Linked DNA regions of Homo sapiens: region 2 is linked to region 1. Evidence: promoter capture Hi-C in 16 types of primary human blood cells and fetal thymus (Javierre and others, 2016). All regions are on one chromosome and are shown on one strand. Each heading gives the region's core, a stretch centred on a gene start or on the middle of the fragment in contact. The rest is flanking DNA. Distances are from core to core; before and after follow the strand shown. Region 1 holds the start of GSTA3 (glutathione S-transferase alpha 3). Region 2 overlaps CILK1 (ciliogenesis associated kinase 1).

Region 1 (3,073 bases), core at 386-2,885:
GTTGTCATAGTCTTTAAGCACAGTGTAGTGCATTGCTCAAAGTTCAGTCCGTGCTTTATAGGATATAACATGGCTAGATATCTCAAGAGCAATCTTTTTTTTTTTTTTTTTGCCATTTGCCTATAGCGCTCACTGTTTTAGACTACAGTAGCATAGAGTAATTAAAAAACAAACTAGGGCTGGGCATGGTGGCTCATACTTATAATCCCAGCACTTCGGAAGGCTGAGGAGGGAAGATTGCTTGAGCTCAGGAGTTCAGGACTGGCCTGGGCAATTAAATAAAGTCTCTATTTAAAAAAAAAATTAGCCAGGATTGGTGTCCCACACCTGTAGTCCCAGATACCCAGGAGGCTGAGGCAGGAAGATCACTTGAGCCCAAGATGTTAAGGCTGCAGTGAAACATGGCCACATCACTGCATTCCAGCCTGGGTGACAGAATGAGACTGTCTCAAAACAAACAAAAAGCATGAAAAAAGCCAAGCTAGGATTATGGCAATAAAATAACCAATCCTAATTATGAAACCCACCAATCTGCTGTTTAAAAAGAATTATCAAAGCAACCAAACTCTCCCACATAGTAGAAACATCGTGACTACACAAAAAATATTTTTTTTTAATTGGATAAGTGCTTTGGCAGGGTAGCCCAGGGTAATATTTCATTTGGCAAATAGAAAGAACTTGCATATAGAAGGAATGTGCATGTTCTGTTGGACAGGGAATATAACAGCTTAAGAGGGGGTTATTATTATTCTTAGATCTACTTGCCTACTACCCTAAAAGTCCTATATATTTAGATTCACTTGCAATTTTGAGACTTTAAACCCTGCTCACCCTTTGGTCCCAGATACTTCGAACAAGAAGGAGGAGGAGGAAGAAGAGGCAGAAGAGGAAAAAGAGGAGGAGGAAGAAGAAAGAGGGCAAAGAGAACAAAGAGAAGGAGGGAAGAAGGAGGAGAAGAAGAAGGAAAAATAGCATGCTGCTTGGTGCTCAATCACAAAGTCACTTATATAAGCAGTAAACTAATCTGTGTAAAATCAATGATGGAAGTGTAAATTTAGATCCTGATTGTCAAGCATTGGTGATTGGTTTCCCATTTGGAAGTGCCAGCTCTAGAGGAATACGACCATCCAGATGTATTTTCTTTTCATTGATCAAGTGGTGCTCCCAAATGTGTGACCCTGCCAGCTTTAAATCTAGTATAATTGTGTGTTGACTCCTGTGAATCACAGGAATGAATCACACGAATACATGTTTTTAATAAACAGCTTTTCCATAAGCAACCTTTGGCATGTGGCCTGGCACTGATGTGGTTGTATTTTCAGATTGCCCACAATGATACCACTCTTACTTTTCTCATATCATCAAATTCTTTGCCCTTGTTTTCTAAATTGTTGAATATTATTTTTCTTTACCGACCTGTCCTTCAGGAACTAACAAACAATGCTTAAATTGTCTCCTAAGCACACAGAAAAACAGCAAGAACATAAAGTACTCACACAAACTAACACATTTAAATTTGTTTTTCTTAGTGAAGTAGACATGAGAACATTTATGAAGATGTTTAAGGTCAATACTAACTTGAGTAAAGTCTAGCCGGTCTCCGCTCAGCTTCTCAAGGCCACCTCCTGATGTGTATGTTAGCTGTTTTAATACTATGACAACTCCTGCCTTCTGAAGGGGGTGGAGTCTAGTTGGGAGCAGCCACTCCCACACCACTTTAGTCTCCAGAGTTCCATGATCTGCTAGGAAGAAAATGACAGCAATTAATTTCAAGGCTATCCATAAATGCACAAAAAGATTTCATATCTATTTGGCTGCCTCAGAAGGTCACTGGGGACCAAGTATCCTGTGAACACTGCTTAAGGAGGATCTTGTTAAATAGGCTGCAGATTTATGACAGATGAGAAAACATTGTGGGGAGAGGAGGAAAGTGTCATAGGAGAGTCATAGGAGATGTCAGGAAAGGGGACTTGATAAAGAGCATAGGGAGATTGCCTTCTAAATTTGTTTAAAAAGACTAAATTACAAATAATGTCACAAAATTTTATAGGCCCAAAGAATCTGGCTGAGTTGTCCTTGCCCTGGGCAGACAAAAGACCTCAGCTGCATTCCCCGAGGTCATTTGCAGATTTTTCTCTGTGACTTACCAGTTAGCCTTTCTCCCTAGCCCAAGGCTCTGCATGCTGTTTCTCCTATTTGGAGCACTCTTTTCTCCCCTGCTCCAAGGCATCCTGTGCTTCCTCTATCACATCACTCTTTCTACATTCCGTGCATCATGTCTGCTTTCCCCCTGTTGAGTATGAGCTCCTTGAGGCAGGGCCTCAAGTCCTGGTGGTTAACCAAGTCCCCGTGGCTAACCACAGTGCCTGGACATAGAAAGGGCTTAATACACGTATATGTAATTTCTACTTTTCTAAAGGAAATTGTCTGATATACATAAATCTGGAAAGAACACTACAAAGCCTTGATGTACCCATCACCTTGCTTCAAAAATTATTGACAATATTTGAAGCAAATCTCAGACTTAGTTTTTTTCCTCTATAATCTAATCTGTATCTTTTAAACTTGTGGGTGGGGGAGTTATTTATGTAACAGAAAAATTGCAAAACTAGTACAAGTTTCCCAAATACCCCTCACCCAGCATCCGCTAATGTTAACATCTTATGTAACCATAGTACAATGATTGAATCCAGGAATTTAATGTTGATACACTATTGACTAAACTCCAGGCCTTACTTGAATTTCACCAGTTTTTCAATCAGTATCTTTTTTCTAACCCAGGATCCCATCCAGGACCCCAGCACTGCATTTCGTTGTCACATCTCCTTAGTTACCTCCAAACTATGGCAGTTCCTCAGTCTTTTCTTGTCTTTCATGATGGTGGCATTTTTGAAGAGTAATGGTCAATTATTTTGTGGAATGTACCTCAATTTGGGTCTATCTGATGTTTTCTCATGACTCGATTGACGACATACATTTTTTGCAAAATGTCACAGCAGTTGTTCCAGTCTCAGCTGATCATTTCCACCCATAATTTCATATCCGAGACATGGTATGTCTTATTAATTTTGAT
Region 2 (3,073 bases), core at 420-2,919, 150 kb after region 1:
ATGAGACAGGAACCCAGGCTGACTGTACCAAACTTAAGGGAAAGCTTTCAAAAGATCATGAAATCTTTGGAGGATCTGAAAATGACAGGAACAGAAGTAGTACTTTGTATCTCAAAGCCCAAATATGAAAATGAATGATATGGCTATGTTCTAATTGTCTTCATTCTGCAATCAAATATCAGCGAATCCTCTGGAGCCATTGGCAGCACCAACATGCCCACAGTGGAGGCAAAGTGAGGGACTGGTTCCAGTTTCCACTCAGCACTGATCTGCTGTGCCTCGGGGCATCTCTTGGTCCTTGAGTTTACTTTTGGTGGAATTAGGGCATGGGACTTGCTCTAAGGTGGTTTCTTCCTCTAAAGCTGTGTGATTCTGTGACTCTGTATCAGGAATTGAGCTAGCATTTGTCTAAGAAAAAAAAAAGGATAAATGTTTCTGCTTTTTGCATCACATGAACAAAGGTTAGCGGAGAAGACAGTGCCACCGAAGGACCCTGTATGCTACACACCTTTCTTTCAAGAGATGCACAAGTGCCCCAGTGCCTCAGCCAGGCCCCAGTAAACATTAAACATCGATTCCTTCTCTTTCGAGCTCACATGTCACCTCTTCCAAGCCTCCTGCCCCAACCTACACATATAGACCCGAGAATGGTCCTCTCCCTTGATGCCATAGTGCCTTGTCCTCACCTCACTGCCAGCCCCTTCCCCGTGGCAATGACCTGCAGGTGTACCCTCTGCTTCAGCCTCGACACTCTCCAAGACTGCTTCATCTTTGTCTTCTCACTCCACTTGCAGTAGCAAGTCCTCAAAGATTGTTTGAAGGGCCCAAATGTGAGTTTTAGTCTTTGCTATTATTTTCTGTACCACCTTGGCTAAGTACCTCAAAATTCTCAGTGCTTCTATTTTGTCATACACAAAACAAAGATAAACTGTTGGGCCCAACTAAAAGTTCTGAAGTTCTGAAGTGGAAGAACAGTGAATACCACAGAATAGCTGGGGCAGGCAGGCAGCCTGGGCCCTCCCACAACAATGCCAAGATGACTGAGTCTCAGAGGATCACAGAAAGTCCCCCTCCATGCGGTCAGATCAGGCCTTTGGCCTTTGGGTAAGGCTGTACTCAACTACCAAAGAAAGACAGCTTTATCTCTCTTTCAAAGAGTTCCAGCAAACCTTTGAAGTCAATGTTATGATGTTCCTGGCTAGGTGACATTGGGGAAAAGCTTCCTGTGATTTGCCCCAATTCCCTCCCCTCAGCGTCAATCCTCGGTGGAGGCAAAGAACATTTGCTCATGGCCAGCAGCTCACATCAGGTGCCTTGCTCATTCACAGCCTAAAAAATGGAGGCGAGGGGCAGGGAAAATTGTAGTTCATTCTTTATTTTGAAACCTTAATCAATGAATTAATGCCATCATTACACATTTTCTAAGACAGGAGACAAAAAGTTACAGCAAACTTGGGGTTCTCTGGGAGTTGTGGTTTACCAGGCCCACTGACACCATTCAGTTCCTTAGAAGGAGCTTGTCTCCCTTTGCATTAATTATCTTACATTGAAAAGATTCTGTTACTTTCATTTATCCTCCTAGGAAAAGTGGATTATATGCAAAATCATTAGATGACCCTTCTCATGGTAATTCTGAGTTCCATTTTACCTTTACAGGTTTATAATTAGACTTCGTATTCTAGGTTTGAATGTGTCCTAACTTTACAAAAGTCAGTGAATACTGTTAATTTCTTTTAAAAAGGTACTAGAAATAGTATATCCGGGTTTATGTTTTTCTCCTGGACCTAATTCTTCTGCCTCTGTACATTTTAGCAAGCAAACCTTTTAAGCATTTTGCCTCTTGGACTACTGCTTTTTTTCTGCATAAGGAATAGCAGTTACAAAGCCAAAAGGACCTTCTTTACATGGATCTTGCTTTGTCTTTACCTTGACAGAGGAGTGAATTAAAGATGCATTCAGCTATTGCATCAACTGGATGTTAACAAGAGAAGATAATCCGTTACATGATGTGCCTTCTTCTGTGCCCCAGAAACTTCTTCATACCTTTACCATCCCTCTCCTCTTTCAATCCCAGCTTCTGAAAAAAGAACTCGTCCTGCACTAGGTCCTTAATCCCATGAGAAGCTTCCATAACTCCCTGTCGCTTCTCTTACAATATAAAAGGTGCTCACGCCTTGAACCTTAAAAAAGTTCTTCAATCACTTGCAGATGATTTTTAAACTAGGACACATAGTTGGCTTTGGTGGACTGTAAAGAACTGAAGTAAAGGCGAAATGTTAAAAAAAATAAAAAATAAAAAAACAGCCAGAAAAACAAACCTTTACCCTGCCATGTGTGAAACTGTAGATGAGCTAGAACGAGAGTCCCCAGCTTAATGAAAACTGCCGAGGGTGGCAATAGTCCTGCTTGCCTGTGTTTCAGGGGTGGGCAAGATAAGGGATAGTGAAGATAGGGGAGTGACTAAGAGCATATCACAAGTTCATGTAGATAGTAACTTTCATGATACTGGCAAATAAGTAGCTGGACGTTACACAATAATACTTTACCTTTCTGGTTCTAACGCATTATCTTTTACGGTAGTTACAAGGACAGCCACATGTTATCAGTATTTATATGCTATTACAACACATTTGACTAAGGAGCTGATCTCAGTGTAAGATGCTTTGCTAGCATGTATACAAAAAATCAAAATGAATTAAAGGAAGTAAAGGCTTAATGTAAAAATAAAATAGGGCAGGGATAAGCACGTTTTTTCTGTGAAGGGTCAGTAAACAGGATAGGCTTTGCAGGCTCTCCATCTCCGTCACAACTCCACTCTGCCATTGTAGCATGAAAGCAGTCAAAGACAATATGTAAATACATGGGCATGGCTGTGTTCCAGTACAAATTTATTTACAAAAACAGGCAGCAGGAAGGACTGGCACACAAGCCATAGTTTGTCAAGCCCTGAAGATGAGGAAATCCCCCAAATAAGCAGAAGCACTTTAGTACTCTCCATAGAGCCCTCACTTACCCCTAGGTTACAGGGCTACATACAAGCTGTGTTTAACCTTAGAATATAAGCTCTGTGAGG

The links. The method cuts DNA at HindIII sites, captures the fragments that hold promoters and counts their contacts. A CHiCAGO score of 5 or more calls a contact.
Region 2: a fragment that was not itself captured here is called in contact with the fragment with the promoter of GSTA3 in region 1 in 2 of 17 cell types (total CD8 T cells and M2 macrophages); the score reaches 6.0 in total CD8 T cells.

The regions. Positions count from the first base shown.
Region 1 is chr6:52,908,063-52,911,135 of GRCh38, forward strand. GSTA3 (glutathione S-transferase alpha 3) reads right to left here and starts at 1,636. Exons shown (of 7, transcript NM_000847.5): 1 at 1,579-1,636. RefSeq lists enhancers at 1,140-1,832, 1,833-2,526. The HindIII fragment of the contact is 5,455 bases long and covers 1-3,073 here.
Region 2 is chr6:53,053,584-53,056,656 of GRCh38, forward strand. All of the region lies in intron 1 of CILK1 (ciliogenesis associated kinase 1), which reads right to left. Among named protein-coding and RNA genes, the nearest start is that of CILK1, 6.7 kb to the right of the region's middle. The HindIII fragment of the contact is 905 bases long and covers 1,218-2,122 here.